Linked DNA regions of Homo sapiens: all the other regions are linked to region 7. The links are contacts of gene promoters, found by promoter capture Hi-C in blood cells and fetal thymus (Javierre and others, 2016). All regions are on one chromosome and are shown on one strand. The core of a region is centred on a gene start or on the middle of the fragment in contact, and the rest is flanking DNA. Distances in the headings are between cores, read along the strand shown. Region 1 overlaps SLC25A13 (solute carrier family 25 member 13). Region 2 overlaps DYNC1I1 (dynein cytoplasmic 1 intermediate chain 1). Region 3 overlaps DYNC1I1 (dynein cytoplasmic 1 intermediate chain 1). Region 4 overlaps DYNC1I1 (dynein cytoplasmic 1 intermediate chain 1). Region 5 overlaps DYNC1I1 (dynein cytoplasmic 1 intermediate chain 1). Region 6 has its middle 120 kb from the start of MIR591. Region 7 holds the start of DLX6 (distal-less homeobox 6).

Region 1 (3,558 bases), core at 464-2,963, 860 kb before region 7:
AAGAGACATGGACAGTTCCACTGCTTCCTAACGAAGCGTCTTTTTGGCCTAATTAGCTGTGCTGCCATTTACTGTTAAATGATAAGTTTCATTCCATTCCTAAAGTATAATTTGTCCCCTCATTAACGCTCTGACAGCTCCTACGGAAAAGGTAATGTTCAAAAGTAGATGGATACAACTTTTTTTGCTATGTTAAGTTTATTTGACTTTTATTTTTATGCTCCAGGGGTTTATGCAATAAAACAGAAGTTATGCAGGGAAAGGGAAATACATTCTCATAATTCTTTTTAAAAAGAAGTAGACATTGCAGATTTGTTTTCTTAGCTACATTACATTCAAATAGCTCTTTCAAAGGCAATTAATTATGCTGCCTTCACTTCAGTCACCTACATCCTCTGTGCTATAACTAAATCTCTCTAAATGTTAGCATTTTAGAGGGGGGCTTTATTTACATTGTTTACTATATTTGTGCTAAACTATTTCTTACTTTAGGAATGCAAAATGTTTACCATTTTCCACTTTTTTTCAGTTGCAAATGTATTTCTAAAACAAGTATTCTAATTGCCACTTACTGGGAAGTCAGAATAGTTTGCTTATTTTGCAAGTCAATACAGAAGAAAAACAGAAAGCCTGATTTTCCAATTTAGGTAAGGTTAAAGCTCAGCAGGCCTAAACACACAGACAGAGCCAACCACTCACCCTTCTTGGGTCTGGCATTGTAATGTTAACAACAGAAACAAAAGAACAGAGGGAAGGAGAAAGATTACCTGTCTCAACTAAATCTAGGACAGTGGTTCTTCTTTTTAAAGACCCACCTGGAGGGACACATACCAGGTTTAAAAGTACTGTGTGAGGTCACCCCTAGTCATTTGCATTTTTCTAGCCAACCAGGACTAGAAACAGAAAAGCTTTATTACTAAAAAGTGCTATCCTGAAACAAAAACACATTAAACTACAAAGCAATGCTAATGCTGTGATGCTCCCTAGAAAGATGGATCTTAACCTGCTGTGATGTCTGACCACGTAAAGGTGAAGTGGGGTGGGGCTGGAGAAGAGAGGTTCACATGAAACAAAGCCCAAGACAGAATGCTGGGAATATATAAATGAGGACCAACCAGACTTGTAATACAAGAGCTAATCAGACTGAAAGGAGACCAAACCACAGAGGTCAACATCTGCTGAATGAAATCCTGACTCCCGGGTCTCTGAATGTAGCTGATACTGATGACCAACAGGAAGATAGAGATTACTAGGTCACTTTCTTGCAACAAAATCAAGGTTCCAGAAGCTCAAAGCATTACTGATTTTCTTGGTAATTACCAGTACACCAAAAACAGCATTTTAGAAGGGAGCACCAAGCCCTGTGGAATGCTTCTGAACTAGATTAAACTACTAGACTAGTAATTAAACTAACTTCATATGGGAGAGTTCTCTTGCTCAAACTTGAGCAATCCTGCTCATTTCAGGAAAGCAATTTTAGCACAAAAGTGGAAACAAGAAACTTCTGAGCCTCAATTTCAGCTCAGATACCATGGTTGGCAGCCTCTATTCACCTGAACTACAAAACCAGGATACCAACTACTTCCAAGAAGTGTTAAAGGGGATTAAGATTATTAAATAATGTGAAGATGAAAAGCACTAAGTCCCAGTATTGTATCATTTGCAGGTAGTTTAACAGTCTCTGTTTCTGTATCAGCAAACAAGTTCCTACCATTTTACTCATCTAGACATTTCAATAACAGTCACTGCCACAGTACCTAAGTGCTTTTTACCAGACAACCCATTGAAAGACTCCTGGCATCTTGTCAAAATGACATGCTGCTACATCATATTACAGACTGCAAGAGCCTAAAAATTTAGAAAAGATGATTTTTCTTCAAATTGATCAATGCTATGCCTCATGACAACAGTGTTTATTTTTTACAGCTGGGTAATAAATTGGTAAGCAAAATAGCTATAGAACATTGTGTTATATTGTAGAATCACAGATTGAGCATTTTAAGTTCTACTTAAAAAAACAGCAGGTTTATTCCTAAGTACCACATATGCCTAAATATAAGGCAAAATTTTCCCCTGCTAAAATTAATCCCAGAAAAGAGGGCATCACTTTATATTCAATCTTCACAAAGTCTCAGATCATGGAGTACTCTTTCCAATCACTTGACCTGGAGAAGCAGAGTACCATTCGGGGAAGGGAGATTCTCCTGAGACAGCCACAATTATTACTAATTCTGGATGTTTACTGAGGTCACTTGCAAAACTCAGGTTAGAAAGAAAAAGAGTAAAAAAGTATTTCTGGGAGGAGGATCTCACAAATACTGTGTCAAATGTCAAAACAAGTCATTTCAAGTTTACTCTAGCAATATGGTAAGTTGTTACATTATGGGGACCAGTTATATCCATTCAGGATTAACTGGGAATAGGAAAAAAGCAATTGACTGTCTTAATATTATGTGTCTATGGGATAAAATTTGCAGGAACAATATCATACATAAAAGTCAAAAATGCTTCAAATTACAAAGCTTGGGATAAAAATGAAGACAATGTATTCTGCAAAACCATGCTAACAGATGACCTAAAAAGTGGGTTAAATGGAGCTCAAGATGCTGATTCAAAATTCATGAATAATTTTAATATTTCTTGATATGTGTTTATAGAAACAAAGCAGTATTAATTTTATATAATGTGACTGTATACATTTCTGTGTAAATAAATGAAACTATCTTAAGTAGACATTTTATTTTTCTCCCATATCCCTAAAGGTTTACTTAGTCAAGCTAGCGTAAAATGTTTTTTTAAAAAATTCTTCATTGAAAACTTGTGTATACATTATGTTTGATAAAGCCTTATAGGTTGGCATATAGGCAGACAGTTCTAGTAAATTCCATTATAACTTTTTGGTAGAGCAGTATGAATAAAAAATTTCAAGAATCATCTAGAAGTTTGGTTTTGTAATCATTCTGAAAAAACATTTTCTAAATGAAAAATGATTAAGATTTATAATAATTAAGACAAGGCATACATATATAGAGAAAACATGGATCGGACCATATGCATAGGATCAGAAAATAAATTATGATACAGGTTTCTCCTTGAACTGAACTCAGCGTATCAATAACAAATCCAAATAAAATTCTAGCCAGTGTTGCTGCAAAGAGCTGCACTGAACAACTCTAGAGGGCACGATTCCTATCATAGTCATCCTAGATTTGTGTATTGATGAGGATAGTTTTTTGGCAGATGGCAGGAAGGGGCACCTCCTTCTAATTGGCATGAAGGTGCCTCTGCAGCTTGGGTAGAACATCTTCTCCAGGTGTAGAAATGCAAAAAAAAATGGATTTCATGTTGAAGAATAGTTTCTGCATTAGGAGATGAGAAAGTAATCAAATAAATGACTAAAAAAAAAAAAAAGTTACCTTGTAGATCCCAAAAAACCCCAGGTCCCGCACGACAGACAGAGCACTGACTCGAGGACCAGTGGTGATTTCTCCTGCCACTTGCAAACGGATCTTGACGATTTCTAAAGGATTTGTGAAAATCACCTGGGAGCCTCCAGCC
Region 2 (3,511 bases), core at 742-3,241, 970 kb before region 7:
AATCCTTGCTACCTTGACACTCAGGGTAACTGATGTTCTTTCTCTGAAATGCCCAAATTATGCCCAAGGATACAGCTTTACTCTTGTTTTCAATTTCCTTAATGTGCTTGCTGCATTTGTTTCATATGCTGGACTCAAAAGCACTCTGGCATGAAAAAGGACTGCCAGCTGTTTAGCTAAGTCCATGAGGAGGAAAAATCTCCTACTCTTGTAAGATTATCAATGGGAAATGACAAATACCAAGTCAGCCCCAATTCTGATTGACTGGGGCCAAAGACACTTGCAGGTGAAACTAGTTCTTGGGAATCTTGGGAAATTGCTCTTGCCTGCCCCATTTCCCCAAACTAATAACAGAAAATTGTGGCCCAGGAGAAGGTGGGCTTGATGCAGGTGTTTGGTGAAGTAGTGTGAAACCATGCCTTGGCCCTGTTTGGATGGCTGGTGTATTTCTGAACATACCTTCTGAAATTTCCAAAATTGTAAATCCAAATGTTAGAACATTTAGCAGTAAGCTTTTGGGGAAAATTCAAAACCAGGAGCTCTTCCAAAAAATTAACATTTCTTTTGTGAGTAACTTAGAGTGTGATCATCACAACTAAAATACTATTATTATCAAACTTACTGATGTTATTTCTGTTAGAAAATAAAATAGGCCAGGCATGGTGGCTCACACCTCTAATGCCAGCATTTTGGGAGGCCAAGACAGGTGGATCACTTGAGGGGTTCGAGACCAGGCTGGCCAACATGGAGAAACGCTGTCTCTACTAAAAATACAAAAAGTAGCTGGGTGTGGTGGTGCACGCCTGTAATCCTAGCTTCTTGGGAGGCTAAGGCATAAGAATCGCTTGAAACCAGGAGGCAGAGGTAGGAGTGTGCCAAGATTTTACCACTGCACTGCAGCCTGGGCAACAGAGGGAGACTTCCTCTAAAAAAAAAAAAAGAAAGAAAAAGAAAGGAAAAAGAAACAAAACTTGTCCACTTTTCGCTTTTGCTGTTTTGTTGTTGTTGTTGTTGTTGTTTTGGTTTTTTTCAGGGGGATTTTGTTTGTTTGTTTTCTCTAATCTATAGCTAAAAGTGAACAGTTAATTTTGTGACTGTCTTTCAACTTTCACTATTGGCTGACTGATTGGTACCAGGATCAAAAAGGAAAAAGAGGCCCACCACAGATTACTCACTAATTTCCTTTCACACCCACCACACATATGCATTTGAGACAACAGGAAATCATAAGTAAAACAAAATCCCTCAGGCACACAGTAAGTTTATTTCCAAGATAAATAAAAACAATCTGGCATCTATACTGGAAAAATGGGTATACTGTAGCTTTCTTCTTCCTTAATGGTAGAGTTGTGTGTGTGTGTGTGTGTGTGTGTGTGTGTGTGTGTGTGTGTGTGTAGGCATGCTCCAGTGTCTGCTTCTGTTTTGGTTTCATTACACCTCTTTTTTCTCTTAAACTGAGTTTTATTACTCATGGAAGCACAGGCCAGTAGTGCTGATTAAAGCCTGGGAGGGGCTGCCACACACACTTTCTCCGGGCACATGGCTCTACACATTCTTCTAGACTTGCTTTCTTTCTCTGCTGGACCTTTCTGAGTCTTAATCCATTAGTGTTTAATGATTTGTGTTGATGCTCAGTGGTTATCAAAGAAGCCCCACTGGACTCTTGTTGAAAAACAAGATGGATTTCAGGTTCATAACAGTATTTGGACCCTGCCTTCCCATTCTTCAGTTTTACTAAGTCTATACCATTTTCAGGTGAAAATTTGTTACATCCAATCTTCCATTTGATTTCCACACAGAGGTTAGCATGCTGTGTGGCTCCGGGCTTGATAATACACTGCCTGGGGCTCTACATACACCAGAGACTTGGGAAAGAGCATTGCCTACAATCCCACAACCAGTCAGCCTTCCTGATACTTAGAGAACTGATTGGGATAACATTTAGCTTCAGATCTCTGCTGTACTTACTATGTGCAGATCCACTAAGGCTGACTCATTTGGAAGTTTCAGTAGGGACATGGTGTGAAAGACATAGGGACTTAGCTGACTGTCCATCAGCACGGGGGAAAGAGGTGATATAATTGTCAAAAAAGCAGATGTAATCTTAGCATGCATTAAATGCAGGCATATTTTTTATCACATGAGAAGTGATAATTCAATGCTACCCAGGTTTCTATATTCTGCTGGTCAGAATATAGGTAGACAGTTCTGTTTTATTCTCAGAACCTCACTGGAAGAGGAATCAGACAAAATACAGCATTTTCAAAAGAGATTCACCAGGATAGGAAAGGTTTTGAAAACCAGGTACCCAAGGAACAGATGAAGGAATTAGTGACAGTCTGGGTAAGAAAAGATTTGGCAGGGAGAGGAGTAACAGGGAACAACTATCTATAAATATTCAAAAAGCTGTACTGTTTTGACTTGATTAGTTTGGTTTGGTCCCACAGGGCACTGCACTGGAAGTATCTCCTTGAACTTTCTTTATCCCCATTAGTGGAAGAAAAAACTCCCCCAGGATACTACGAAAACTGGCTGCCCTTTAAGGAAGGTGTTTAAGCAGAGTTTGGACCACCTCTTGGTTGAGGCAGATGAGTAGCTACATTAGATGATTATTACCACTCCTTCTGACCAGCAGTTTATATGATAATAATAGTTTGGGAACCATCCTTTATACAATAGCAACTTTCCAATATTAAATATTGTTTCATTGTAGTTGTGGCTAGGTATTATGGACAGTAACTCACCAAGGGTAAGACTGATACTGTCAGCTATTTGCACAAAGAAGCACCAAGTAAGTGTGGTTTGGCCACTGGTGGCTGAACTGCCTGAAATCTAACCCAAATTGCTGTAGGTTCTGCTCATAGTAACCTTCCATTTTGTGTTTAATACACAGCTGCAAATGATTTTAGCCTACCGTTTAGAATTCTGCAGAGTGGGATAACCCACTAGAGTATGACAGAGGGTTACAACATCTTGTGTATGGTTCCTGGGATGTATAAATGACCTTTCTCAATGCCCTGGCCAAATCTAAGCCTCTATACTACTGCAAACGGTATTTTGAAAAATAAATATATTATTATCCTAGATTTTGCAGTAACATAGAAGAACCTAATTTTATCTCACCAGGTACATTGTGCCAATAATCTCACCACTAGTATCTCTCCCCCAGATTAAAATGGTTATGAATATTAACCACTTTTTATAAAGAATGTTAACAAATGTTTGGCATTGTGACTATAATGCATTAAACTCCAGATTTAGTAACATGTATTCCTTCCAAAAGTCAGTAGTTCTACCCTTTTGAAGACTGTCTTTTTCCATCACTCTTGTTGAGCTTAGAAGCCAAACTATGCGGTGGAGACTTATTCAAGTAGTTCAAATTCACCTCCCTGCATTGCCTCTGCCCCATCAAACCTCATTTGTTCTAGCGTCCTTCTGTTCCACTGCATTGCATTCTGACTGAGCAAGGTGAAGCTTTATAAGTATTTCCACTATTATGTGTTGCTGCCAG
Region 3 (3,370 bases), core at 109-2,608, 960 kb before region 7:
TGAAGCTCAGGGGCAAAGGATGAGTTAGAAATATAGATATGACAGTGATCCATCATTTATTCCAAAGGTGAACATTATAATAGAACATGAATTGAAGAGGCTATGAATGCAATCTTGGACCTGCTGATGCTGCAGGTGCTGAGGCGTGAGAACAGGATGCTCAATAAAGAATGTGATAAAGACTGTTAAACACCAGAGATATCAAGAAATACACAGATGGCAAGGCAAGAAGAGGGTCACGTGGACCTCAGTGAGAACACTTTTAGTGGAGCACTGGAGACAGATTGTGAGTGGTTGCAGAGTGAAAAGGGAAGACAGTAGACACAGAAAATATAGACTAGTCTTTCAGACATGAGGCAGTGAACATAAGGAGATAGAGAGGCGACTAGCAGGGAAAGCCAGGCCAAGGAAGGATTTTATTATTATACTCTCTGAGAGACCTGAGTATATTTGCGGCCTGAAGAGGAGCCAGTGAAAGGTGTATGGTTTAAAAAATGGAGGAACAGAATTCACCGCTATATAACTCATCCATGTAACAAAAAGCGACTTGAACTCCAAAAGCTATTGGAATAAAAATTAAATTAAAAGAAAAAACCAGAGGAAGATTATTTCAAGTGACCATGTCAGGTTTAGGATAGGGAGAAGAGGCAGGATATTGGCAAGACTAAAAAAAGGCTTACAAGTAAGTTTAGCTACATGGAAGTGGAGGGAGAAGGAGGAAAGAAGAGAAGGTCCCCCATTTCTTCGGTGGAGTCAGAGGCAGTTATCTGTTAACGATGATGGGAACTGGGATGTGGTAGGGAGAGGAAGGAGGATTAGACCAGGTCCTGTAAGAGATGGGACAGGGCCCTGAACTGCATAGATTTGAGGACCAGCTGGGGCTAAATATCACAGATGTATTTCATAGGTGATATCTAATTTAAATTTTATGAGGTGATAAGAAGAGTGCCAAGAATTGTGTAAAATTGCCATTGTGGAATCTCTTACAGGAATCTCCTGAATCTGACATTCAAAGCTGTCCACAGTCTGTCCCCACCATTACTAGAGCAGGTGAACAGATCCAGGTTTGGGAGATGCACCACTTCTTTACAATTCTTCCAAGCCAGTGTTCTCAAAATGTGGCCCCAGATCAGAAGCAACAGCATTACCTGGGGCTTATTAGAGATGCAAACCGTCTGGGCCCCACCCCAGACCTTCTGTGTCAAAAACTCTGGGGATGGGAGCCAACAATCTGTGTTTTAGAAGCCTTCCAAGTAATCCAGATGTTGCTAAAATATAAAGAGCCATGCCCTAAACCACCGTAAAGTTCTATTTCAAACATCCCATCCTACAGAGCTGGTGGGGCAGTTCAGTTACATTGAGGGACCCTTCCTTTCTCCCAGGGTTGTGTTAGAGAACTGGGGATCTAGTTTAGGGTTCAGACAGGAGAATGAAAACTATTGTCCCACCTGCAACAAGGTTTCCTCATATAATGAATATGCTACATGTTCTGGCCAGAGGTTTGTACGGTGAATGTATTTGAAACCCCAAATTAATTCTAACCCTTTATGTTGTCCTAAACAGTTACGCTTGAAACTTGACAATATGGGCTAATGGCTTTCTCCTCTTCTTAATCTCTATGAGCGTAAAATTTAAAGGAAGCAATCACATCTCTTAAAATTACTAATCACAGGCCGGGCACAGTGGCTCACGCCTGTAGTCCCAGCACTTTGAGAGGCCGAGGCAGGCAGATCACAAGGTCAGGAGATTGAGACCATCACGGCTAACACGGTGAAACCCCGTCTCTACTAAAAATACAAAAATTAGCTGGGCATGGTGGCGGGTGCCTGTAGTCCCAGCTACTCGGGAGGCTGAGGCAGGAGAATGGCGTGAACCCAGGAGGCAGAGCTTGCAGTGAGCCAAGAGTGTGCCACTGCACTCCAGCCTGGGTGACAGAGCAAGACTCCATCTCAAAAAAAAAAAAAAAAAAAAAAATTACTAATCACATTTTGCAGGACTATGGCTGAAAATAACCTTTATCTTAATAAAAGAGGCAAAGTAAAAAAAATACTCTCTTGAAAATATTGGAAATGGAGTTTTTTGGCCTTTTTCCATCTTACTGACAATGAGAATTTTCATGGAAGTGTAGCGGAGACAAAGATATGAGATGGGTAATTATTGTAGTCCCTTTTGACAATAATGATTACCTTCATAATCTTTACTTTAAACTTATTGGGTAACTTGGAGTCATCTTATCATTTAAACAAGGCAAAGAAGTTTATAATAGAGTCTTAATAGGATTAGTGATAGCCTCACACTTCAGCTTGTAAATTAAATAACATAAGGAAAAATCCTCCAAATCGTAGAAAGAATTGGTGCTAAGAGACAACACTATGAAATAGAATGAAATCAAATTTTTTAAAAGTCTGCAATATAATACTTTGTTGATAAAATACAGTATAGTGGTGGGGCACAGTGGCTCACACCTGTAATCCCAGCACTTTGGGAAGCCGAGGTGAGCGGATCACCTGAGCTCAGGAGTCCGAGACCAGCCTGGGCAACATGGTGAAACCCCGTCCCTACTAACAATACAAAAAATTAGCCACGCATGATGGCTCATGCCTGTAGTACCAGCTACTCAGGAGGCTGAGGCAGGAGAATTGCTTGAACCTGGAGGGCACAGGTTGCAGTGAGCCGCTGCACTCCAGACTGGATGACAGAGAGAGACTCCATCTCAAAAAAAACAAACAAACAAAAAAAAAAACAGTATAGCTCAAAAAGATAACCAGAAAAGATCAAAAGCAAACAATTCGACAACAAGAAAATTTGGCAACAGAAATATGCATTTTATACACTCTACTGCCCAAGAATTCACATGTCTAACATAATAATAAAATATTAAAAAAGGAAGTCTGTATTCGAGGGGGAATGTCATGCTGGAATTAGCACAGTGAGCAAAATGAATCTCACCCTGAAGCCTATAGAGAAGTCCATATGAATTCACTTTGCATAGCTAAATGATTGCCAGAGAGACAATAACACTTCACATACTGAAAGAGAGAAGTGATGATTTTAAAGATCCAAATTTAAAATGAAACTTCTCTACATGGGATCTTAGAAATACTGTAGTTAAATGAAAAAGCATATTTAGAGAAAATGCAATCATTGTCAATTCTCTTTGTGATTTGAATAGTTAATATTTCCATTAATTTTATAGGGTTTTATTTAAACTTTCCATGAGGATTGAACAGGTTGAGTTTTTGAAGTGGGACAAACATGATATTACATATTTTGGGGGTGCTAAGTTCCTAAACAATACCCTTTCCCATTCGGTTTATCTTGTGCCTTTTTCTACCAAACTGCAGTTTCACCCTCTACAGCCTGTATTTAT
Region 4 (3,245 bases), core at 124-2,623, 940 kb before region 7:
AGAGGCCAAGAGGAAAAAAAAAGTCTGCCTTCTCTTCTCATTTGAGAATTATGTTAGTTTGTTAGGGCTGCCATAACAAACTACCACAACCTGGTTTAAACAACAGAAATGCATCCTCTCATAGTTCTGGAGGCTAGAAGTTCAAGATCAAGGTGTCATCAGGGTTGGTTTCCTCTGAAGCCTCTCGCTTTGACTTGTAGGTGGCTGCCTTCTCCCTGTGTCTTCACATGGGCTTCCCTTTGTACACGTTTGTGTCCTAATCTCCTCTTTTTATAAGAACACCAGTCATACTGGATTACAGCCCGCCCATACAACCTCATTTAATCTTAATTATTTCTTTAAAGACCTTACCTCCACAAACAACAGTCTCATATTCCAAGGTACTGGAATTAGGACATCACCATATGAATTTGATGATGGAGAGAGAGGGTGATAATTCCACCCATAAGAGCTAAAGATATTTCATTATCACAATTGATCCTTGGTTATGGACAAATAAAGAGTTAACCATAAGGCCTTTCACTACCGCCACCTCCTAATCCTTATATTGAAGGGCTCCAGTCTCTCCAAGGCTGAATCCCAGAGGCAACAGAACCTTGAAGGACCCATGGATGTCGAGGGAAAGCAGCGGGAACAGTTGATGCAATGTGGTTAGCGGGAGAGGTGGCTTGGCTGATGCTGAATGCAGAGACCGTTGATCACCATCTTCAGAATACATTTACTGACTGGTGCAGGGTATTTAGTTGCCCTGTGGTGCTGGTTTGGATTCAGGCTTCTTTAGAGTCAGTGCTTGTTTCTAAGCATCATTGTTCTTCTCCAGACCAAACATATCAGAATATTTCATGGAAAGAAATATTCATATCTCTCTCTCTCTCTCTCTCTCTCTCTCTCTCTCTCTCCCTCTCTCAGTGTCTCTCCAATTGAAATTTGTGTGTTTCAGGGACATACTGATGCTTTAAGTCAAAGGATAAGTTTATTTGTTTTTAATGAGATACAATTAATCAGACATTTAATTTCCATTGCTTTGTCCCTGTGATCCACAGGAAATTTGTGGCTAGATTTCCTACTATCCAACTCACTAGTGGCCTACCTTTCATTACGATTTTTCATATAGCTTTCTTGCTCAGTAGCAGTTTCCTGATCTTTTCCCGTGGTGTTCAAACATGCTGAAATCTTTGCCATGACTGGGCAGCAAATGTGACCTTCATCAGAGGTTACATCTCAAGGTACCAAAGTGAGGGGAAAGGTTCTGAACCAAGGTAACATGCTAGAAGCACAATAGTTATCCCAAGGAGGATGCCAAATCAAAAATCCATTTGAGAGAGTAGAGGTTTGGTCCTGGGGAGTCTAGGAAAGCCCAAGCCCAGAGCATCAGAGGAAGGCTGAAGGCTCTGTTCACAGGTGTCAGACAAAATAGGACTGAACTCAAGGCTGCGTTCATCACCTAATTACAGTCCATCTTATCTGCCTTCCATTTGCCAGATTGTATGCCAAGTGCTTGAGACAGAAAGCAAAGTAAGAAATGGTCCAAAAAATCAAGGATGGTGTATCTAAATGGACAGTGGGTGGTCTTAAGGCAAAAAAAAAAAGGCAGCCCTAGACACACACTCATGTAGTAGTGTTATGATTTGCTTAGATATTAGTGGTTGATGATTAGATGGGTTCGATTAAAATATCTCAAACATGGCCTAAAATTTGGGTTAGCTTGCAAACCACTTGAAGAATCAGCGTGCACCCACATGGACCATTGCCACATTTGCCAACCACCCTCAACCAACCATATTAATCTTCCAACACTTCTCAGTTTAAGACCATCAACGAATTCCTAATTGCTACATTCAATGGTTTCTTGGTATTATCCACCCCTCATTCCTGCAGCTCTCTCTAGCCCAGTTATGTTCTCCTGCTTTGTCTAGGTCCTCTCCACTGGTTCTCTCTCTTCTACTCTCTCAGCCCAAATGCTCAAAATTTCCTCCATAGTCCTCCTTCTTCTCCATCCTCCCCACTCTTTTCTTTTTTTCTTTCTTTCTTTTTTTTTTTTTTTTTGAGACAGGGTCTCTCTCCGTGGCTTAGGCTGGAGTTCAGTGGCATAATCATGGCTTACTGCAGACTCTATCTCCAGGATTCAATTGATCCTCCCACCTCAGCCTTCCAAATAGCTGGGACTACAGGCATTCATCACCATGCCTGGCTAAATTTTTGGTTTGTTTGTTTGTTTTGTACAGACAGGGTTTCGCCATGTTGCCCAGGCTGGTCTCAAACTCCTTGGCTCAAGCAATTTGCCCGCCTTGGTCTCCCAAAGCGCTGAGATTACAGGCGTGAGCCACCGCGCCGAGCATCCCGGCTCTTTCCTCTCCCACAGCACCTCGTGTGACTGATTCTTTAGTGTGGACTTCAGGCCCACTCTCTCTTTCAACTTCAGACCTGCACTTCCACTGTCAGCCTAACCTGAGTGTCTCTACCAGAGACTCAAATGCACTGTGTTTAAAATACAGATCAGACCTTCCTCTATTTCTCTATTTTTTCTATTTTCTACTCATTTAATGGTATTCGTCATTCAGTTGACTGCACTAGAAAAGCTGAAAACACTCTTGTGAATGTTAAACATCTCTGAATCTGTTTAGCACATAGCACATTTATCAATGCACATTTAATACATTAATAGCTAATTGCAGCAAAAAGTTTTAACTACATACCCAAGACTTTTCATAACATACCCCACTTTTCCCCTACCCAAACCAAAATTATTTTGTTTTCATTATTTCTTAGGACAAATCCTCAGAGTTCACTCAGGCTGTCCCCACCTCTCATCTTTATATCCGTCTGGGAATACCATACTGACTTAACCAGGTTTTTGCATGTTTTGCTCTCCTCTTCTTGACTGTTTTCCTTACCATCTGTCAAAGTCTATGTATCTTTCAAGGCAGGTTCCCTCACCTGTCCTAGATAATACCATCCTTGACCACATCAGACTCTGGTAACACCAACACACCACTACCACCCCCAATCTTCAAATTCCTCTGGCACCTAACATCTGTACCACAGAATTTAGCACCTGGCTACATACTTGTTCTCTTTCTTTGGTATAAACAAGGCAGAGAGCCAGTCTGTTTTCCAGTGATTTGCAGACATGGTAAATTCCTCCCAGAGTTTTTCCCAGAATTGTGTCTTTGAGGGGGAATTTATATTCTTCCTTTCTTCAGATGGTAAAAACCTGGGTACCTCCTTGTGATATGATGTGTTTT
Region 5 (3,344 bases), core at 496-2,995, 990 kb before region 7:
GTTCAATTAACTTTCAATTATTCCTAATTAGTCTTTGACACCAGTTATATATATGATACATTGGTATAACTGGCATTTGGCAAATATAATAGATTGGCGTGTCTTTCTGAAGCTACGGTTAATTTAAAGATAAGACGGGATCCCTGTAATTGTACTGGTAGAAAACTGGTAGAAGTTTTCCCAAGTGACACATACCGATCAGCATAAAATGTTAACTGCTTCAAAACAATTGAAAAACTTAAAAAATGAAAATATGTTCCTATGGTCTGCCAAAACTATCCTGAAATTTTATCTGCGTTGGTGGGAGGAGGGTTGGGGACAGTGGCAGGAAGCTTATTGTTACATTTTTTTCATGCCATGAGAACAAATTTGAAAAAGTTTTGACAGAAGGTATATGGATTGTGATTGATGTGATGGTTGATAGCACCTCTACTGAGAGAGTAGTTCCACTAATGTAACTTAGGCTTGAAAGATTTATTTTGAAGGAAGAGGGTATATGCACTCATGGGTTGCAAATAACAGCAGAGTTTGGGTTTTTGCTAGTAGGTCTACAGTATGCTCTGTGCGTCTCTGCTTCTGTCTGAAGATTACCATCCTTTCTTTTTTGTTGGTTGTTCTGTTTGAAATGGCAATTGGGAAAGGAGTTTAGTAAGAGATAGGAAGTAGAAAGGAGTTTTAAATCTCTATTCTGCCTGGAACTTTAGCTGTCTCAATATGGGAGTAAACAATTCAAATTAACCTTTTTAGGAAAATCTCACAACAGATTATATTCTATCAGGTGAAAGAAAGTGAAATAGAACTAGGGTACATTTTTAAAGCCAAAACATAAACTCAGGTGAACATGAGCTCGAGTGAGTATGAAGGTTGTTTGTCTGGGAGTGTACAATATATATGTGACCATGACTTTAGCTAGTGATGGGCTGTGGGAATCAGCTGAATTTACATATACTTTGAAGTGCTTAATTTATCATTTTCTCAAAATATTTACAAGTTTATCAAGTATTTGTTGACCACGCTGATAGAATAATGGCCACCCAAAGACATCTCTATTCTTATACCAGGAACCTGTGAATGTTACCTCAAGTGGCAAAAGGGACTTTGCAAATAGGATTAAATTAAGGATCTTTTTTTATTATTTTTTTAAATTTTTTCCATAGGTTATTAGGGTACAGGTGGTGTTTGCTTACATGAGTAAGTTCCTTAGTGGTGACTTGGGGAAGGGTGGATGGGGGTGAGGGATAAAAGACTACAAATAGGGTATAGTGTACACTGCTCAGGTGATGGGTACCCTAAAATCTCACAAATTGAGGATCTTGAAATGGGGAGGTTATCCTGGATTATGTGGGTCGGCCCAGTGTAATCACAAGGGATCTCATAAGTGAAAGAGAGAGAGAGAGGCAAAGAGGGTCAGACTCAGAGAAGGAGATGGGATGATGGAAGCAGAATCAGAAGGTGTGATGTGAGAGAGAGACTTGACCAACCCTTGCTGGCTTTGAGGGTGAAAGGTGGCATGATGCAAGAAATGAGGGTGGCCTCTAGAAGTTGGAAAGAAGGCCAAGAAATTGATTCTCCCCTTTACCCTCCAAAAAGAAACGTAGCACTGTCTACCCCTCGATTTTAGTCCTTCCAACCTCCAGAGCTGTAAGATAATAAATTTATGTTGTTTTAAGCCACTAAGTGTGTCATAATTTGTTTTTGTTTTGTTTTGTTTTGTTTTGTTTGAGACAGGGTCTTACTCTGTCACCCAGGCTGGAGTGCAGTGGCATGATCTCAGCTCACTGAAGCCTCAACCTTCTGGGCTCTAGTGATCCTCTTGCCTCCGTCTCCCAGGTAGCTGGGACTACAGGCATGTACCACCACGCCTGGCTAATTTTTGTATTTTTTGTAGGGACAGGTTTTTGCCATGTTGCCCAGGCTGGTCTTGAACTCCTGGGCTCAAGTGATCCTCTGGCCTTGGCCTCCCAAAGTGCTGGGATTAGCAGGTAATTTGTTACTGCAGCAAGAGCAAATTAATGCTAATGCCTACCAAATCTTAGGAACTGGCTGAGGCACAAAGAACAACACAGAGAGAAGAGAAGCCCATCTCCTGCCCTTCTGAGGCTTCCAACTCCAAAGGATCCATTTTATTGTACCCATGAAGAAATTAAGCCCAACAGAATTAACATGATTTTCACATAGAAAATCAGTCTTGAGTACCAGTTCATGGATCTTTCCACTACGTCTGTATCCTATGATTAGGATGAAGGGGAAAAAATCACATCCTGTCCCTTCCCCACAACCTTTGTGTGTTACCGTAAGGGCTGCTGTCCTCTGACCAGAGCAGGAAACAAACAGCTTAATGACATTCAAATCATTTTTTACTTAGGAGGACTCATCTATAGAACAGAGTCATGCTTTTGCATTCTGAAGAGCTGGAACTCCCTACAGCCATTAAAGAAAGGGAAGATGGCCTGTTCTCTCAGGCAGTGGCCCTTAACTTAATTGAAGAAACTACGTCCTAAAGGAGTTAAGTCCCATGAACAAAGTGACACAGCTATAGAAAGAGAGTCTTTCCAGAACGTGAGTCTCCTGACTCCCTTTTCGGTTTTTGCCCCTTCTCCCAGCAGACATGTAAGGTTCCAGCTGCTTTTTCGGAATCTGAAATAGGAACCCAGTGCCTTTCACTAACCTACTTCCCAGCACACCGTGTGGATTACAAAGGGAAATTAACATGTAAAGAAACCCTTTGGAAACTAAAGGAGCCATGTTAGTTCTCTTGCTATATTATTTGGCTGGTCTCACTGTTGGTGTCATTTTCAAGTGTGGGGCTTGATTTAATAGAGACAGCCAACAACTGTGGATCTAATCAAATGGGGCTCAAAGCACATAACTTTCTGTGTGGGGAACTATAAGAAATATTTTCAAGTTTTGGAATGTTCTGACAGGAATAGGGCAGAAAATATTCAAAGGAAGCTGGAAAATCAAGCTACGGATCTTGTTTTTCAGGTCTGTTATAGTCACTTTGTGAAGTACTGCAGACAATTCATTATAATTTATCACACTGATATTCATAGATTGGATGAAGCCCAAACACAACTGAGTTAGATGCATATTAAATTACCTCTTACTTAAAAGGAGGGTGGTCTTACCAGGGCAGGATGGAGTTCATTAGCAGTCTTAGAAGCTTTCCTTAACTCTTCATTATCTGGTTTCATATTATTCCTGGCTCCACAGGATCATTGAACACCTTCCTTTTTTTCAACTCCTGGAGAATTGCACAAGGCACTTTGTGAATCTCACCAATCAACAATTCCAAAGATAAAAGACACATCATCACAAGTCTATGCACAAAGCAGAAATTACTG
Region 6 (3,367 bases), core at 514-3,013, 910 kb before region 7:
TACACATTTCTTCTTAAAAACAATTTACACCAGAAATGATGTTTATTACTATTGGACTAGGAAATATGTCTATAAACAACTTCAATAAACTTTTTTTCAAAAGGTCATTTTATGCCCAGGGAAAATGAAAACAAATAGCGGTTGAGTCATGAAAAACATTCGAAGACAGGCTTTCGGCTTTTTAGGAAGGGAATTCCCATTGGGACTTTGTTGGTAGGGATTCCTTCAACTGTACGGTTTCTTTTATTTTTAAAATAGTATCATACTTTTTCTCCAAGTAGCCTACAATATTTAGATATTGAAATCCTTTGTAAACAATAAAAATTTTATAGATAACAAATGAGTATCTGGAATAGGTTTAAAAGCATTTGAATGAAAAGTACTGGGAAAAAAAGTTTCACAGACATACAGTAAAGTACCTAAGAATAAAAATGCAAAACGCGTGCATTATTATGATAGACCAAATTGAATGATTCGGTGAGTGATGATGTGAAAAGTACAAAGGCCTGAGTCACTTACAGTAGGCACATAAAATGTTACAAGAACATGTGTTCTTATATATCCCACTGTGGTAGCTGGTCTCCAAGGCAGTTCCCAATTCTTGTGCAGGCCATCCCCTGTTGAATCCAGGCTGACGTTATGTGACTGACACAATACTGGGAAGTGATGCTACATGGTTTCCATTATGTCTTAGTTAATTCAGACTGCTACGTGGTTTCCAGGATGTCTTAGTTAATTCAGACTGCTATAACAGAATACTGTGGTATTCAGACTGAGTGGCTTAAGCAACAGAACTGTATTTCTCACAGTTCTGAAAGCTGGGAAATCCAAGGTCAAGATGCTGGCAGATCTGATATCTGGTGAGGGCCATCTGCTTAGGTTGCAGATGGCTATCTTCTCATTGAATCCTCACATGGTGAGGAGAGAGAGAGATGATCTCTTTCATGTCATTACTTATAAGGGCACTAATCACATTTATATGGGCTCCACCCTCATGACCCAGTTATCTCCCAAAGGCCCACCTCCAAAAATCATCACATTGAAGATTTAGGCTTCAACATATGAATTTGGGAATGAACATAAACATTCAGTCCACAGCCCAGGGCAAGGTTATAAGAAGACATATATCCTCCACCTAGGTTTCTTGGCACAATCAATCTTGGTCCCTGAGCTACTATGTAAGAAGCACAACTACCCTGAGACTTCCAGGCCACACAGAAGCTGACCATGGAGTGGTCATGTAGACATAAGAGAAATACACAGCCAGTCCACAGCCATTTAAGTCACCCCAGCTGATGTCCCAGATGAAATGTGGTAGCCAGAAAGATGTGCCTTTCAGATTTCCTATTGCAGAGAACATGGTTGAATGACAGTTATGATGCCTTGCTTTGAAACCCATTACCAAGTTTGACCAAGGTCATGCTTCCTGCATGCTCTTGCCAGCCAAGACTAAGTATGGCAAAGATCCTAAGGCTGGCCTGTATCTAGGAGACATAAGACTTCTTTGAAGTAACTTTGGCTCCAGGACTTTATGTCAGCATTGCTAAAACTTTCTCAGAACTGTACTTCAGTCCAAGACTAGCTGACTTTCTTCTCTTCCTCCCTTCCTCCCTCCCTCCCTCTCTCCCTTCCTTCCTTCCTTTCCTTCCTTCCTTCCTTCCTTCTTTCCTTCCTTCTTTCCTTCTTCTCCTCCCTTTCCCTCTCTCCTTCTTGAGGCCTGACAAACATCACTGTCTGATGGCTGTCCTGCCTAAGCTGGCTAGGGATGTCCTAGGCCTTATAAAAGAACAAAGAAACTACCTCAAAAGAATTGCAAAAATTAGCATGTACCATTAGGAGCCCGGGGAGTAGCACTGGGATTAGATTTTGAGGTGTTTAATCAAGGGAGCCAGAATGTTGATTAGATAAGGAATAATTCATTGACTTTGAGGGTTTTGTGTGTGTGTGTGTGTGTGTGTGTGTGTGTGGTAAGGAAGAGGGAAGCTATATGACTTTATACTCTGGCAAGGAGCCTAAAGAATAGGGTCACTCTTCGAAGTCTGAAAAAGCTGTAGCCTACATTCACTAGAGTGAAAATGTCTGAGTTGCCCTGGTAGTACAGGAAGGAATAAAGAGGTTGAAGGAAATGGGTATGTTAGAATAGATATATTATTTAAGTTCAGAAGACACACTCAAGGGTTATGTTACATAGGAACACCCAGAGTACACACCCTTCAAAGCCATTTGCAATGAGCTGGTGAGAGAGGCATTAGCATCTCTAGAATGTTTAGCAGTAGCTTTCCTTTGTAGGTCAGGGCTGATGGTAGGAGAGGCAGTCACAGAGTGGGGCTTGCTCACATCCATGGGGATGATGAGACCCCAGAGTAATAGTGGCTAGGTGGTGGCAGTTAACCACCAGAAGTCAGGAAGCCACAACTGCCATAATGACCAGCTAGATCAGAGAGCAGCCAAGAAGGCTTTACCCATAGGAAGTTGTGGGAGTAATTAAAAGAACGTGGCATTCCTAGTGGCAAAATAGACAGGCAGCCAAAAGGGTGTTGCTTAACTTCTATGACCAAAAACATAGAGCAAGAATGGAGACGCAGGAGACTGAAGACTGTTACCTCAATAAAAAGCCACATACCTCTGCTCACTGTCCAGTCCTGAGCCAGTTTTCCAATCCAGAAACCATTGACTGAAGATTGCTAGGAGGTTGCTAGGAGGGAGGACACCAGGAGGGAGGACACCACTGCAAACATCTATTGTGATGATCTCCCCAGTCCTTCCCCAAAAGGACCTATGGGCATTTATTCAGGTGAATATACAATGCAGAAAGAAACAAACCAACATTTGAAGACTATTGGGTACATTATCTGGGTTCACACTGAAATGTTATTGGAGTGGTGGCTTACGGCAACAAGGTAATGTAATGGAGTGTTTACTAAAGTCTAGGTCTCAATGGGCTCATTAGGTCTATGTACACACACAGTGGGTCATTCCGTCATTCCTCCAATCCTTGAGTGTTCAATTAGAATTGATATACTTACATCAGGTACCTGGCCTCTGGGATAAGAACTCTCACAGAAGGGAGGGCCAAATGGAGACCTCTGAAATTGCCACATTCTCATCTTCCCCTGCCAAGATAGCAAATACAAAATATTACATCTCAGGGTAGAGCTAGGAGGATGGCAGAGATTGGTGCCACTCTTAAAGGCCTAAAAGATATAGAGTGGTGTTCCCTATAATATATCTATTTAATAACCCAGTATGCCCCCTTTATAAATTAAATGGATCTTGGAGAATAACTGATGAGTACTGCAAGCTCAACCAAGTAAGATCACTGATCACAGCTGCCGTACTAGATGTGGTGTCATCCCTAGAACAGATT
Region 7 (3,496 bases), core at 829-3,328:
AAAGGAGGGGGAGAGGAGCGCAAACGCCGCTGACCTGGGAACTCGGAGGAAACTCGCGGGCAGCGAGCTTCAGGTCTTCTGATACATTGAAGGAAAGAAAGAAAGACAGAAAAAGAAAAAAACAAACTGTCCTGGAGATAGCTAGACATCCAGGGCTGGGAGCTGGGAAAATCAATTGGCATAAGCCGCTGCCGGCGGGCTTCGCGCAACGTAAAAAATAAAGTCCAAGCTGCTCCATCTGCAGCCACCCTTTTCTGGAGTTAAAGGGGCAAGCGGCACCTTTTCTCTATTTCTCAGTTTCCTTCGGTCCTGTAACTTATGGAGTCCAGAAGAAGTAGGATATACAGAAGTCCTCAGTAGTTTTCCCAAAGGGAGACACTGTCTCCTTCCCGCAACCTCCAGACACTGCAGTACAGGGTTGTTAGATATTAGATAGTACGTTTCTCCGTGTGGGCAAAGGCTCGCGGCTTAGGTCTCTAAGCAGATCGAAAGTCGGGGTCCAGACCGAGAGGATCTTCAGGTCTCGTCCACCCAATCTCAAGCCTCTGGAAGGGCGGGCTGCCGGCGACCTCCTCCAGTCCCGGGACCCGGAACCCGGGACCCTGGACGCCGGTGCGGGCGGGCCTGCCCTCCTCTGTGCCTGGCCCCCAGTCTGGCCCTCCTACCTGTTGACCAGGCCTGAACCACGCACCGGGGCTCCGCTGTCTCTGCTTGGCTGCCTTAACCTGCGTGGGTCTGGAGACCGGAGGGAGAAAGGCTAGATCCGCAGCCTTGGGCTGCTCCGAACTTAATGTCTTTCCCCAGTCCATCTTTGAAAGAGAAGTGGTTCTACCACCTGGATGTGCGGATATAAATCCCCTTGCAAATAATAAATGGATTAATAATAACAAGGTATGAAGTTCTTTTTATAGAAAAAAAGGAGAGAATTGAAACTAAATGCGGCAGTTAGACAACCATTTTGATAAGAGGATAATTGAGGCGACACTGGTGTATAATTAGAGGATAATTTATGCTATATCCACTTTTATTCCACCTCCCAAAATAAACCCAGTCCATAATCATTACAGGCAAATTGTTCTGAATTTTATAGCAGCAATTTGAACAAAGTACTGCAGTTAATCATGGGAGATTTTTGTGTATTCCTGATTAGAACTCTAATTGCCTCCTTCCAGAAAGTAAAAATAACTGTAAAACGACTCTATTTTTATCATTAACAATGTTGACAATAAAATAAAATCAATTGGAATTGTAATCGAGAGACAAATTTAGGACGAAGGCACTTTTACTTGGGTAGTTTATATTGTAATCAAGATTTGCCAAACCACTAACCGCATGTATCATTTGCATATATTTGAAAGCATTACAGTAGCTTCTGTTTTCAATAGGAAAAAATGCATTACTGTCAGTCCTCCAACGATTCGTTTTCAGAACACGCTGCTGCGTTCTGAAAAGAAAAAAAAGACGCCCCCCCCCCCCACAACCTTTTGTACAATATATAAGAAATACGGCCTGAAACGGCAGGGACCGAGCCAGAACAGGGTCTGATTTTTCTTTTTCTGTACCACCCCCCAGTGGGGTGGAGCCCAGGTGTGAGGGTTCGTCTTCCTTCTGTGGTTTCAATAAAATACGTCTAGAAAAATCCACGGTGACAAGGAGCTCCCACAAGAGTGTAGTAGGACCAGAGTGGCAGGGACGTCAAGAAAGGGGGGCCTGGATTTAATGCGGGGGTGGGGTCACTGCTTCTAAGCACAGGCAACCTACAAGGGTGCAAAGGGATTGAAAGAGAGCAGCCCCCAGTTGGCTGTTTCAAGGCTGAGATATTGGCAACTGGGGCTCCGGGATTTGGGGCACGAGCTGCGGCGGGAAGCATCGGCGGCCGGCCGGGCAGAGGCGCCTCCCTCCCCAACGGCCCCGGGCGCCACACAGCGCGGCCCCCGGCTGCAGCTCCGGCTGGGATTGGAACTGCGGAAGGTAGGCGAAGAACTCTGCAAGTCGCGCACACGCCAGTAGAAGCCGTGCGCCTGTGACGTCAGGGGGCGACTGACCAATGGGGAGGCACTGCCCTTTGGAGACAAACCATTCGACTCGTGGCGTCTGCATCAAGTCTGAAAGCAGACGCGCAACTTTCGCAGAATCCACCTTAAAATCTCTGCCTTAAACTGCACCAGCCCCCAAAAAATCCAAGGGGGGAAAGCAGGCGGGGGGAGAGCAGATTCCCCCCTCCCCCTCTCCTCTCCCATCCCTCCTCCTTCCTCCTCCCTTTGAGTTAACAAGGCCCCGCTCACTATATCTCTTTATATTAAATATATATATATATTAGAGAAGAGCGAGGGAGAGGGAGAACCACCTCCACCCCCCTCTTTAAATTCTTTTTTTTTTTTTTTTTTTTTTTTGCAAGGATCCAAAGAGCTAAGGTGGCTGCAGAGGGGAGAGCGGCGCGAGCCAAGTGGGGGAGGGTGGAGGAAACCCGGGAGAAGGCTTTCTCCAGCCCCCAAAGTTTTTGATGATGACCATGACTACGATGGCTGACGGCTTGGAAGGCCAGGACTCGTCCAAATCCGCCTTCATGGAGTTCGGGCAGCAGCAGCAGCAGCAGCAGCAACAGCAGCAGCAGCAGCAGCAGCAACAGCAACAGCCGCCGCCGCCGCCGCCGCCGCCGCCGCAGCCGCACTCGCAGCAGAGCTCCCCGGCCATGGCAGGCGCGCACTACCCTCTGCACTGCCTGCACTCGGCGGCGGCGGCGGCAGCGGCCGGCTCGCACCACCACCACCACCACCAGCACCACCACCACGGCTCGCCCTACGCGTCGGGCGGAGGGAACTCCTACAACCACCGCTCGCTCGCCGCCTACCCCTACATGAGCCACTCGCAGCACAGCCCTTACCTCCAGTCCTACCACAACAGCAGCGCAGCCGCCCAGACGCGAGGGGACGACACAGGTGAGAGGCCGCTGGGGCAGCTCGCTTCTCCCGCCTCCCGACTGCCCCCTACCCCGCCCGCCCGCTCACTTCCTCGACGCCCGGGCCTCCGCCGGCCCCCTCCCCCAGGCGGCCCCGCGCGCCCTTGGCCGGGCCCCGTGCGCGCCCGCTCGCCTGGCGCCTGCCTGCCGGCCTCTCCCAGCCGGGCCCCTTCCCGCCGCCGCGGACCCTCAGCTTCCGACGCGCAGTTCGGGCTGAGTCCCGGGCCCGGCGCAGGCTTCGTTCGACGAGTTAGTCCACACTGCGCTCTCCAGCCTCCTGGGTCTGTGCGCCCTTTTCCTTGCTCCTTCCCTCCAGGCTGTAACCCACGTTTGACCCGGCTGGGGACATTTCTGGGCCGGAACTGGGGAGCGTGTTTTGCTTCCCAGCCCACGCTGGGCAGGCAGTGGCCTACTTTGCGTGGGGCGCCCCGTGCTCCTCAGTGACTCGGAGGGAAGCTGGCCTGGCTTTCGCTCTGGTTAAACTAGTAACAGTCAGGCTCTTTCCAGTGGGCTTTAAAGTGTCCCTCACCTTCATCC

What was found. The method cuts DNA at HindIII sites, captures the fragments that hold promoters and counts their contacts. A CHiCAGO score of 5 or more calls a contact.
Region 1: a fragment that was not itself captured here is called in contact with the fragment with the promoter of DLX6 in region 7 in 1 of 17 cell types (naive CD4 T cells); the score reaches 6.2 in naive CD4 T cells.
Region 2: a fragment that was not itself captured here is called in contact with the fragment with the promoter of DLX6 in region 7 in 1 of 17 cell types (naive CD4 T cells); the score reaches 5.4 in naive CD4 T cells.
Region 3: a contact is called between a fragment that was not itself captured here and the fragment with the promoter of DLX6 in region 7, in 8 of 17 cell types (naive CD8 T cells, naive CD4 T cells, total CD4 T cells and 5 more). The highest score is 9.4, in naive CD8 T cells.
Region 4: a fragment that was not itself captured here is called in contact with the fragment with the promoter of DLX6 in region 7 in 12 of 17 cell types (naive CD8 T cells, naive CD4 T cells, naive B cells and 9 more); the score reaches 10.4 in naive CD8 T cells.
Region 5: a contact is called between a fragment that was not itself captured here and the fragment with the promoter of DLX6 in region 7, in 1 of 17 cell types (monocytes). The highest score is 5.4, in monocytes.
Region 6: a contact is called between a fragment that was not itself captured here and the fragment with the promoter of DLX6 in region 7, in 6 of 17 cell types (naive CD8 T cells, total CD4 T cells, non-activated CD4 T cells and 3 more). The highest score is 6.4, in naive CD8 T cells.

The regions. Positions count from the first base shown.
Region 1 is chr7:96,143,140-96,146,697 of GRCh38, forward strand. SLC25A13 (solute carrier family 25 member 13) reads right to left here. Exons shown (of 18, transcript NM_014251.3): 14 at 3,417-3,557. Among named protein-coding and RNA genes, the nearest start is that of MIR591, 75 kb to the right of the region's middle. RefSeq lists enhancers at 1-751, 752-1,586. The HindIII fragment of the contact is 1,614 bases long and covers 907-2,520 here.
Region 2 is chr7:96,028,983-96,032,493 of GRCh38, forward strand. The region is part of intron 11 of DYNC1I1 (dynein cytoplasmic 1 intermediate chain 1); the gene reads left to right. All of the region lies in intron 1 of LOC124901700 (a long non-coding RNA gene), which reads right to left. Among named protein-coding and RNA genes, the nearest start is that of MIR591, 190 kb to the right of the region's middle. The HindIII fragment of the contact is 2,962 bases long and covers 511-3,472 here.
Region 3 is chr7:96,047,307-96,050,676 of GRCh38, forward strand. The region is part of intron 14 of DYNC1I1 (dynein cytoplasmic 1 intermediate chain 1); the gene reads left to right. It overlaps LOC124901701 (a long non-coding RNA gene), which reads left to right and starts at 2,676. Exons shown (of 2, transcript XR_007060441.1): 1 at 2,676-3,370. The HindIII fragment of the contact is 7,205 bases long and covers 1-3,370 here.
Region 4 is chr7:96,063,350-96,066,594 of GRCh38, forward strand. The region is part of intron 14 of DYNC1I1 (dynein cytoplasmic 1 intermediate chain 1); the gene reads left to right. Among named protein-coding and RNA genes, the nearest start is that of MIR591, 150 kb to the right of the region's middle. The HindIII fragment of the contact is 9,866 bases long and covers 1-3,245 here.
Region 5 is chr7:96,011,756-96,015,099 of GRCh38, forward strand. All of the region lies in intron 10 of DYNC1I1 (dynein cytoplasmic 1 intermediate chain 1), which reads left to right. LOC124901700 (a long non-coding RNA gene) reads right to left here. Exons shown (of 3, transcript XR_007060440.1): 3 at 3,193-3,244. Among named protein-coding and RNA genes, the nearest start is that of MIR591, 210 kb to the right of the region's middle. The HindIII fragment of the contact is 2,831 bases long and covers 331-3,161 here.
Region 6 is chr7:96,098,716-96,102,082 of GRCh38, forward strand. It overlaps a transcript of DYNC1I1 not described here. Among named protein-coding and RNA genes, the nearest start is that of MIR591, 120 kb to the right of the region's middle. The HindIII fragment of the contact is 4,033 bases long and covers 1-3,367 here.
Region 7 is chr7:97,003,475-97,006,970 of GRCh38, forward strand. It overlaps DLX6 (distal-less homeobox 6), which reads left to right and starts at 2,079. Exons shown (of 3, transcript NM_005222.4): 1 at 2,079-2,939. The coding sequence starts at 2,504. All of the region lies in intron 1 of DLX6-AS1 (DLX6 antisense RNA 1), which reads right to left. RefSeq lists an enhancer at 796-1,517 and a silencer at 2,830-2,929. The HindIII fragment of the contact is 12,379 bases long and covers 1-3,496 here.